2 separate regions of the Homo sapiens genome follow, and region 1 is linked to region 2. The links are contacts of gene promoters, found by promoter capture Hi-C in blood cells and fetal thymus (Javierre and others, 2016). All regions are on one chromosome and are shown on one strand. The core of a region is centred on a gene start or on the middle of the fragment in contact, and the rest is flanking DNA. Distances in the headings are between cores, read along the strand shown.

Region 1 (4,543 bases), core at 957-3,456, 180 kb before region 2:
TTGCCTTGCCTTGTTCCTGATTATTGATTATATAGTAGTAGAACAATGTCGGAATCCAAATATTCTCACTCCCAGTCTTGTGAGAAAAAAAGAAAGAAATCGTTGTTTGTCTTGGCTGCAGCAATCAGCTATAGAAGCAACCCATTTTCTACAGAAGGCAGAAATCTGCAGAGATCCTACTGGGCTGTGAATTCATAAGAAACTGGATAATGGATTGGCTGATTCTTTTCATTATGCAATTCAATTCAAGTCTTCATCCTAGTATGCAATTCAAATCTTCATCCTACTCTATTCTAGTGTAATTGAGAAAACAGGGATCTCTAGACAGCATTTGAGCAAAATGCAGGACTGTCCTGACAGGATCCTTAGAGGTACTCGTCTCTCCACTGATGTTGATAGAGTAAAACTAAATTATTGATGGATCCGAGGCTACCCTCTGCTAGCAGAAAGAAAAGAAAGCTCCTTTCACATAGTTGCAGAATAAAAGAGAATGACCTGCTCTGGAATAAAGACCTGGCAAGAAACAGTCTTGGTTTGTAAATTCTTCTAGGTCCTGGAGAGTAGTTGGTGGAACCAGGAGGAGAATCCAGAACTAACACTAAGAAAGCTTAACTTCGTTTTGTGGGAGGCTCCTAAGTAACCTATTTCTGCTTTCTGGTGGCATTGCTCCAGAATACAGGGAACACTTTGAAGGACATTCTGTTTTGATCTATCAAAATAATCCATAGTTATCTTTGCATTCACAAAGTAGATAAATTTTGTTTAAAGGAACTAATAGAGGTATTATAGATGAATTCTGTAAACTGGAGTTAAATTCTATTTGTTTAATAGTACTTTTGAACTTCTTGTTGAGGCAAGCAAAGTGTATGATTATTAAACAATGTAAGCACTTGTAGATATTTTCAAACAAACTTTCATGTTTGGAGGTTATAGCTCTCAATGTCTTGATCCATTTTTACCTGATGCCTCAAAATTCATAGTTTCATCTCACATTTGTTTCTTATTCTACTGTTTTAAAAAAGTCTCAATTAATTTATAGTGTCTTGGTACCTTCTTTGGAGAAAAGGAAATAAGAGCTAGTTAAATTAAATTATAGACTACTCCGAACACAAAGCATACATACCCTATGGAGTAAATGGCTTCATTGTCTCTAGCATTCACATTTTCTAAGTTATCGAACATCATAAAATTAAATATTAAAGATCTTTACTAGACCGCCAAGATATGTTTAATAAAATCTAACATAAGCTCATTGTATCAAATTGAAATCATTTCATAGTTTAAAGAGTGTATATTATTGTTGACTGAGATATTGGGAAGAATCCTGACCATTTGTTTGGTTGCATTAAAAAGAATTCTATGTAAAGTCTATTTGGCTTCCTGGGCATCGAATTGATTATCTTCTCTCTTTTCTTTTTTGGGACTTTTTTTTCTAAAAAACAAACAACAAAACAGTTCTTTGAAGTTCCATTTAGATTTTCATTCTCAAGCAAAGATATAGGTATCTTCCAATGTTTCTCCTCTGAGATTTTACTCCTTCCCCTTTGACAATTGCCACCTCAACAGAAGCCTGATCAGAAATGAATGCCTTTCAGGCCGGGCTCAGTGGCTCATGCCTGTAATCCCAGCCCTTTGAGAGGCTGAGGCGGGTGGATCACTTAAGGTCAGGAGTTTGAGACCAGCCTGGCCATCATGGTAAAACCCCATCTCTACTAAAAGTATGAAAATTAGCTAGGCATGGTGGCATGCACCTGTAATCCCAGCTACTTGGGAGGCTGAGGCAGGAGAATCGCTTGAACCCAGGAGGAGGAAGTTGCAGTGAGCAGAGATCACACCACTGCATTCCAGCCTGGGAGACAGAGCAAGACTCTGACAAAAAAAAAAAAAAAAAAAAAAAAAAAAAAGAGGCTTTCACAGACCATAAAATAAGAATAAGACAATAATTTGGTAGTTTTTTTTCCTGATGCTTCAAAATTCTATACTGAACTCTCAAAACCTCAGATAGCCTATCTTATTATTAATGATCTGTATTGCAGGTGGATTAAAGAACCTCATTTAGCCATAACTTAGCAAATTCCATGACTGCCAGGATGTTTAACAGTTGGTCAGTCCACATGAGTGAATGACTTTTGTGAGAGTAGAAGTTGGTAGTTTTTCCATCAGAGAAATATTTTATTTGTTTAAATGAAATGGTCACAGGTAATAAGAGAATAAAATAAACCAGCCTGATCTCCATGAAAAGTAGTTAGTGAGCTTTCCCTATAACAACAAATGCTCAAGATGTAGTTTAACATCCCAAATTGGTAGTATAGTAAAATAACATTCACACTTTCAGAGTTTATGAAATAATCATATGTATAACAGCCCATCTAACTCATGAGACTAATATCCAAGATTCAAGTTGTTTAAAATTGTTATTTTATCAAATTATATCACAAAGATACAAGAAAATGAGCTTTGAAGATGTGTATGATTAGATCTCTTGTTTAGGTATATACCTTTGGAAACTTGAAATAAATAAATCTATAACAATTCCTTAAATGTAAATACCACAATATTGGTTCAGAAAAACACATATTACTCTTAGCAGCTTATTTAAAAACACATCAACTCAATGTTATCTTTAAGAAGACTGACAAAGTCAGGTTACAAAGGAGGTTCTCATTTATTTTCAAGGTATCTTCTCAATTGCTTTTTTCTTACACATTCATAACAAATTCAGATGCACAAGTGGCCAATCCATTCTATAATACCACCAGATTGTAGAATCTTCCAACTCATGACTGGAGAAAAATCTTGACTATAATGTAGTTCAACAAGTCATCAAATTAGAGAATCCCCTGTACTCCATTCATTCCAGGGCCATCAACTTACTTTTGAAGACTGTCGATAACAGAATCTCCTATCTCCTTAGTGATCCATTTTCTATTCGAACATCATTGACAGTCAAAAACTCTGCTGTTTTCTGTTCATGAAACAATGATTCTGTTTGCACATTTCAGTCATAATAAATAAGACTAATCAGTCTTCTAAATGATAATCCCTTTTTTCTTGAAATATTTCAATAAAGAGTTCCTATATGATGAAAGCCTTATTGTCTGGGTTAAAATGCTAAAATATTTAAATTTTTATTTGAACCTCATTAACATTTGTTCTCCCATTCACCAGTCAGTCATCTATTTTTAGAGATATGTCCTGTAAGCAGACACTACCGAGCATGTTTTAAAATTCATGTTCACTCTTTATTTATTAATTATCATTATTATTTTTTGAGACAGAGTCTCGCTCTGTCACCCAGACTGGAGTGCAGTGGCACGATCTTGGCTCACTGCAACCTCTGCCTCATGGGTTCAAGCGATTCTCCTGCCTCAGCCTCCCGAGTAGCTGCGATTACAGGCCCATGCCACCCCACCTGGCTAATTTTTGTATTTTTAGTAGAGACGGGGTTTCACCATGTTGGTCAGGCTGGTCTCGAACTCCTGACTTCGTGAGATGCCTGCCTTGGCCTCCCAAAGTGTTGGGATTACAGGCATGAGCCACCGCACCCGGCCATTTTCACTCTTAAATACTATCAGGCACACAGTATGCAAAAGACACTGTAGTAGGCACACAGCATCGGTGCTTAGTTATTGTTAACAACCCAATAATTATAATAATGGTGATGTCAACAAATACGTGTTCACTATGCTGCTTTAGAGTTTGAAAAAAAGTTATAAAATTATTTTCTTAGAATTTGAGTCAGATAGATAAGGAAAGTCTTGTTTTAAAAAATAATATAAGTAGAGCTTATTTGAGCCAAGCTTTAGGATTGCAACCCAGGAACATAGATTCAAGTTGCCCTGGATACACACTCTATAAGCAGCAGTTACAGGTGGATTTTTACTCCAGACTGGGCAACAGAGGGGGATCCTATCTCTGATAAGAGAAGTCTTTTAAATCTTAATTTTAATTGGAAGATAATGGCGATTGTAACTGGCCCAAGTAAATAACAGATAGTTACAGGAATGTTATTCAGGTCTTTTAACACCAAAGATCTGGTGTCCCCTGCTGCAGTTACCAATGATTCTTATCTTTTCAAAAATAATTTTTGATTCCTAAGTAGTAAAGGTGAAAGATCTCTTGTATGAACGTCTGTCGTTTATAGTTATCAAGTAACACTGAGAAAAAACAAAATCTTTTTTTTTTTTTGAGAGAGAGAGAGAAAAAGTCTCATTCTGTCTCCCAGGCTAGGGTGCAGTGACACAATTATATCTCACTGCAGCCTCATACCCCTGGACTTAAGCAATCCTCCTATCAGAGCTTCTCGAGTAGCTGGGACTACAGGTGTACGCCACACATCTGGCTACTTTTTTTTCTTTTTGGTAGAGACAGAGTCACCCAGGCTGGTCTCAAACTCCTGGTCTCAAGGGATCCTCCTGCCTCAGCCTCCTGAAGAGGTGGGATTACAGGCGTGAACCACCATGCTAGCTAAAACCAAGATCTTGATCTTTAACACTGACCTAAATTAAGGTTATTTTTTTTCCCACATTAGAAAAAGAAAGAA
Region 2 (4,556 bases), core at 1,934-4,433:
TGACGATCCGTCTCTACAAAAAATACAAGAAGTAGCCGGGCATGGTGGCGCACGCCTGTAGTCCCAGCTACTTGGAGGCGGAGGTGGGCTGGTCTCTTGAGCCCAGGAGGCAGAGGTTGCAGTGAGCTGAGATCCTGCCACTGACCTCTAGTCTGGGTGACTAAGACTCTGTATCAAAAAAAAGAAAAGAAAAGAAAAAAAAAAGGCCGGGCGCAGTGGCTCACACCGGTAATCACAGCACTTTGGGAGGCCGTGGCGGGTGGAACATGAGGTCAAGAGTTTAAAACCTGCCCGGCCAACGTGGTGAAACCCCGTCTCTACTAAAGATAAAAAAAAAAAAAATTTAGCCGAGCGTGGTGGTGGGCGCCTGTAATGCCAGCTACTCGGGAGGCTGATGCAGGAGAATTGCTTGAACCCGAGAGGCGGAGGGTGCAGTGAGCTGAGATCACACCATTGCACTCCAGCCAGGGCGACAGAATGAGACTCGGTCTCAAAAAAAAAAAAAAAATTGGGGGAGAAAAGAAAAAATTAAAAATACAATTAGTCGTATTGCATAATAACGTAACTAGTTTAAGACTAAATAATATTGATATGGTTACATAAAACTAAAAAAGTACATGCAAATGTAAATAGCATTCTTACTAAAAATTAAATCCAAAGCTATTTCGAAAGGTGGAGTTTTCTTCACTATTCTTCCCAAGACCTTTTGCCTGGATATTAGGGATAACCGGTTTTAGGAACTTGAATTCATTTGTCTCGGAACCTCCCGTCAGACACACCTCGTACTGGTAGCTCTGGGAAAGGGTCCCGGTGCCGCTCACGTCCACCAGATGCCCTGGAAAGGGGCCCTTAGGCACCGAGCAGCTTCCCACCGAGGCCGCCCTGCTCCTCCTGCACAGCCGCACCGCCACGAACAGGAGCACCGAGAAGAGGAAGAGCGAAGACACCGAGGCCAACGCCACCACCAAGTAGACGGTGAGCGAGTCGGCCTGGGCCTGGGCCGGTGCCGCCTCAGGGAGCGGCAGGTAGGGCTGGGAGAAGCCGTCCACCAGGAGCACTTGCAGCGTGGCGGTGGCCGAGCGCGGAGGCTCGCCATTGTCCTTGACCAGCACCACCAGCCTGTGCTTGGCCGCGTCGCGCTCGCTCAGCAGCCTGGCGGTGCGCACCTCGCCATTGTGCGCCCACACGCCGAATAGCCCGGGCTCCGTGGCCTTGAGCAGCTGGTACGACAGCCAGGCGTTCTGGCCCGAGTCGCCGTCCACCGCCACCACCTTGGTCACCAGGTAGCCCGGCTCGGCCGCCCGGGGCACCAGCTCGGTGCAGGGCGCGGAGCCGTTCTGCAGCGGGTACAGCACGAAGGGCGAGTTGTCGTTGGCGTCCAGCACCAGCACGCGCACCAGCGCCTCGCTGCTCAAAGCCGGGGAGCCGCGGTCTGTGGCGCCCACGCGGAAGTCGAAAGCCTGCAGGGCCTCGTAGTCCAGCGACCTGAGGGCGAACAGGTGGCCGTTGTCTGTGTTGATGGAGACCAGGGAGGCGAGGGGCAGGTGCAGGTCCTGGGGCGGGAGTAGCGAGTAGTTGACCTGGGCGTTGGTGCCTGAGTCTCTGTCTGTAGCGCTGACACTGCCGATGTGCAGGGCGGGGCTGTTGTTCTCGCGGACGAACAGGGTGTAGGAGGTTTGGGTGAAGGTGGGGGCGTTGTCATTGACGTCAGAGACCAACACAGTTGTGTTGTGCTCGGTTTTCAGCCTGGGTATCCCCAAGTCGGTGACGGTGATGGTGATATTGTACTCGGCTGTGCTCTCTCTGTCCAGTGGTCTCTCTGTTTCCAACGTGTAGTAATTCTCAACTGAAGATTTTAGCACGAATGGGAGGTCTTCCGGAATGGAACAAACAATTCTTCCGTTGTCCCCAGAGTCTATATCTTGGATACTAAAAACCATAACCACGGTCTCTGGCGTATTTTCTGGGATTGGACTGGTAATTGATGACACAGTGATTTCAGGAGCATTGTCATTTACATCTATCACGTGAATTATGACTGTAGATTTTCCAAAAAGTCCTCCCCCATCTGTGGCTTGAATGATTATTGAGTATGACTCAATCGTTTCAAAATCCAGAGGTGCTCTTAAAGTAATTTCTCCAGACTTTTGATTAATTTCAAATGTCTTGCGAATATCTTCTGAGGCATGGGAAAAGGTATAGCATATTTCACCATTTGTTCCAGAGTCTAAATCCCAAGCTGAGACAATCAAAATCAGCGAGCCAAGGATGCTATTCTCCCGAATCTTCACCTCATAAAAAGCCTGCTCAAATTCAGGGGAGTTGTCATTAATGTCCACAACCACCACCCTGACCAAGGCAGTTCCAGACCTGGGAGGGGACCCACCATCCAGAGCAGAGAGGATGAAACTGAGCTCCGGGAGCTCTTCATAATCCAGCGCCTTGTCCAGAACTAACTCGGGGTATTTCCTATTGTCTGGAATGACTCTCATTTTAATGTGAAAATGAGAGTTGGGGCTTATTGTGTAGCTTTTTACAGCATTGATTCCTACATCTAAATCCTTCGCACTTTCTAGTAAGAACACAGCACCAACGGGACTGTTCTCTGGGATTTCTAGGAGCATTTGTTTTTCCGAGAAGATGGGAGAGTGATCATTTATATCCCTGACCTGAAGCTCAATTTGTAAAAACTGCGTGGGGTTTTGCATTAACACCTGCAAATGTAGCACGCAAGGCTCGATGGAACCGCAGAGCTCCTCCCTGTCTAGTGTTTCACTTAAGAGCAAATCCCCAGTGTTTATGTCCAGCTGCAAACGCTGTTTCTTATCATTAGAGACCACCCGAGCCCCCCGTGAGGACAGTTCTCTCACCTTCAGCCCCAGGTCCTTTGCCAGATTGCCTACAAAACTCCCGCTCTGCATTTCTTCTGCCACAGAAAAGCTCCAGGTTTCAGAGCCCGCCTGAGACATTCCGAGCAAAACAAAGAGAAGCAGGACTTGCCTTATCTGCTGAGTGCGTGTCCCTTGGTTCTCCATAGTTCCTTTCTTGTAGGCTTCTTGAAGAAAGGCTTCAGCTCTGCGGAACGCGTCTCTGACTTGTCCACCAAATCCTCTGTGGTCTAAGGATTTTAACCCTGTTGAATGGTTTCCAGGTCACCCTCTTGAAGGCTTGTTGTTTCTGTCTTCTGATTCTCTGTGTGCACTGGATATCAGTGTTCACAACGCCATCCAGTGAATATATTTTTCACGATGTTATCCTGCAGCGCCACCAAGTGTCTCCATAGATTTTCACAGTTTGGTGAAAGCTACCTAAATTCCATTCACTTATATGTCCTCCGGAAACAAATATTGTTTTATTCATTGTGTTCAAGTGATTACAAATATATTGCACGTTCTGTAATAATTATTTCATATTCTCTTTAGTTTGATATGCTGTTAATATTCATCTTAAAGCATTTATCTTTCCCCCTTCTCCATACAACCAAACGTGCTTAGTTGTGGTGAATACAGAAATACAAGATGTGATTCCTGGCTCCCAGTGGTTTGTAATCTTTCTGAGAAGACTGGAAACATAAAACAACCATAATATTTTTAAGCTGTACAAAATTCTATCACTACTTGACTTTCCTTAGGTGGTAATGAAAAGGCAAACTATACATGGGTCATTTTAGAAGTCCTCTCAGAGGATATGAAACTGGATTAACCATGAGATGGGACATACTTTGATAGTTATGATAGCACAAGAAGGCATTTATATAGATTTCCTTGGTAGCAAGGAATTGTGAACTGCTAGAAAGTAAAGTAAGATATTGGGAGTAGAACACATTATGAGAATCCTTGATTTAGTTCCAGCTTCTCAAAAAATAATAAATACACAAGCACAAGCATGTTAGTTTCATTTAAAGCAGGCTTATTTCTAAGACTGCCCTCCCTCAGTTTCCCAAGATTTATTCCAGCAACATCTATGGCTATCTGCTTTGTTTTTCAGCTCAAGAAGACAGAATGAGAGATATTTTCTTCCTCAATAATAGAACAAAATCTTAGCCTTCATTCTGATTAGACCAACTGAGAGCACTTCAGCCTGTTACTGAAGAAATCAGTGTCTCAAGATGTATAGGATTAAAGGTAGAGATTATAGTCCCAGAATCTAAAGACTCCATCTTTGACCCTTTGTTTTAATCCAGGCAGAGATTGCCCCTTAAACTTGAGGTGGTTTCAGTCCTAGCCAAAGTGCATGGCATAATGAGGGAGATAGTTGGAATAGGTGCTTGGAAACTACCAATGGTATCCACTGTTAGACATCTCAAAGTACTCTCAATAATGGAGGACATCTAAGAAGTCTGCTTTTAAAAATTCTAATTTCAAATTACATTCACAAAAATGTGAACTAGATACATGGTTGAAAAATTATCAGTGCAGAAGAGTAGAAATTGAATAGTATGTGGATTGACTATACAATTATCCTTCCTTCTTCTTAACCCCTCTCTAAAATGACAGAAAAGTAATAAAAGGTATGAATTCACAAAGACTAAGAATACATAAGTAAATACACAAATT

What was found. Contacts are between HindIII fragments. The CHiCAGO score rates a contact against its expected background, and 5 or more counts as called.
Region 1: a contact is called between a fragment that was not itself captured here and the fragment with the promoter of PCDHB11 in region 2, in 1 of 17 cell types (endothelial precursors). The highest score is 5.2, in endothelial precursors.

Annotation. Positions count from the first base shown.
Region 1 is chr5:141,377,251-141,381,793 of GRCh38, reverse strand. All of the region lies in intron 1 of PCDHGA1 (protocadherin gamma subfamily A, 1), which reads right to left. All of the region lies in intron 1 of PCDHGA2 (protocadherin gamma subfamily A, 2), which reads right to left. All of the region lies in intron 1 of PCDHGA3 (protocadherin gamma subfamily A, 3), which reads right to left. The region is part of intron 1 of PCDHGB1 (protocadherin gamma subfamily B, 1); the gene reads right to left. It also overlaps PCDHGA4, PCDHGB2, PCDHGA5, PCDHGB3, PCDHGA6 and PCDHG@. Among named protein-coding and RNA genes, the nearest start is that of PCDHGA7, 3.2 kb to the left of the region's middle. The HindIII fragment of the contact is 3,193 bases long and covers 610-3,802 here.
Region 2 is chr5:141,198,254-141,202,809 of GRCh38, reverse strand. It overlaps PCDHB11 (protocadherin beta 11), which reads right to left and starts at 3,183. Exons shown (of 1, transcript NM_018931.3): 1 at 1-3,183. The coding sequence starts at 3,035. The coding sequence ends at 642. It also overlaps PCDHB@. The HindIII fragment of the contact is 6,869 bases long and covers 1-4,556 here.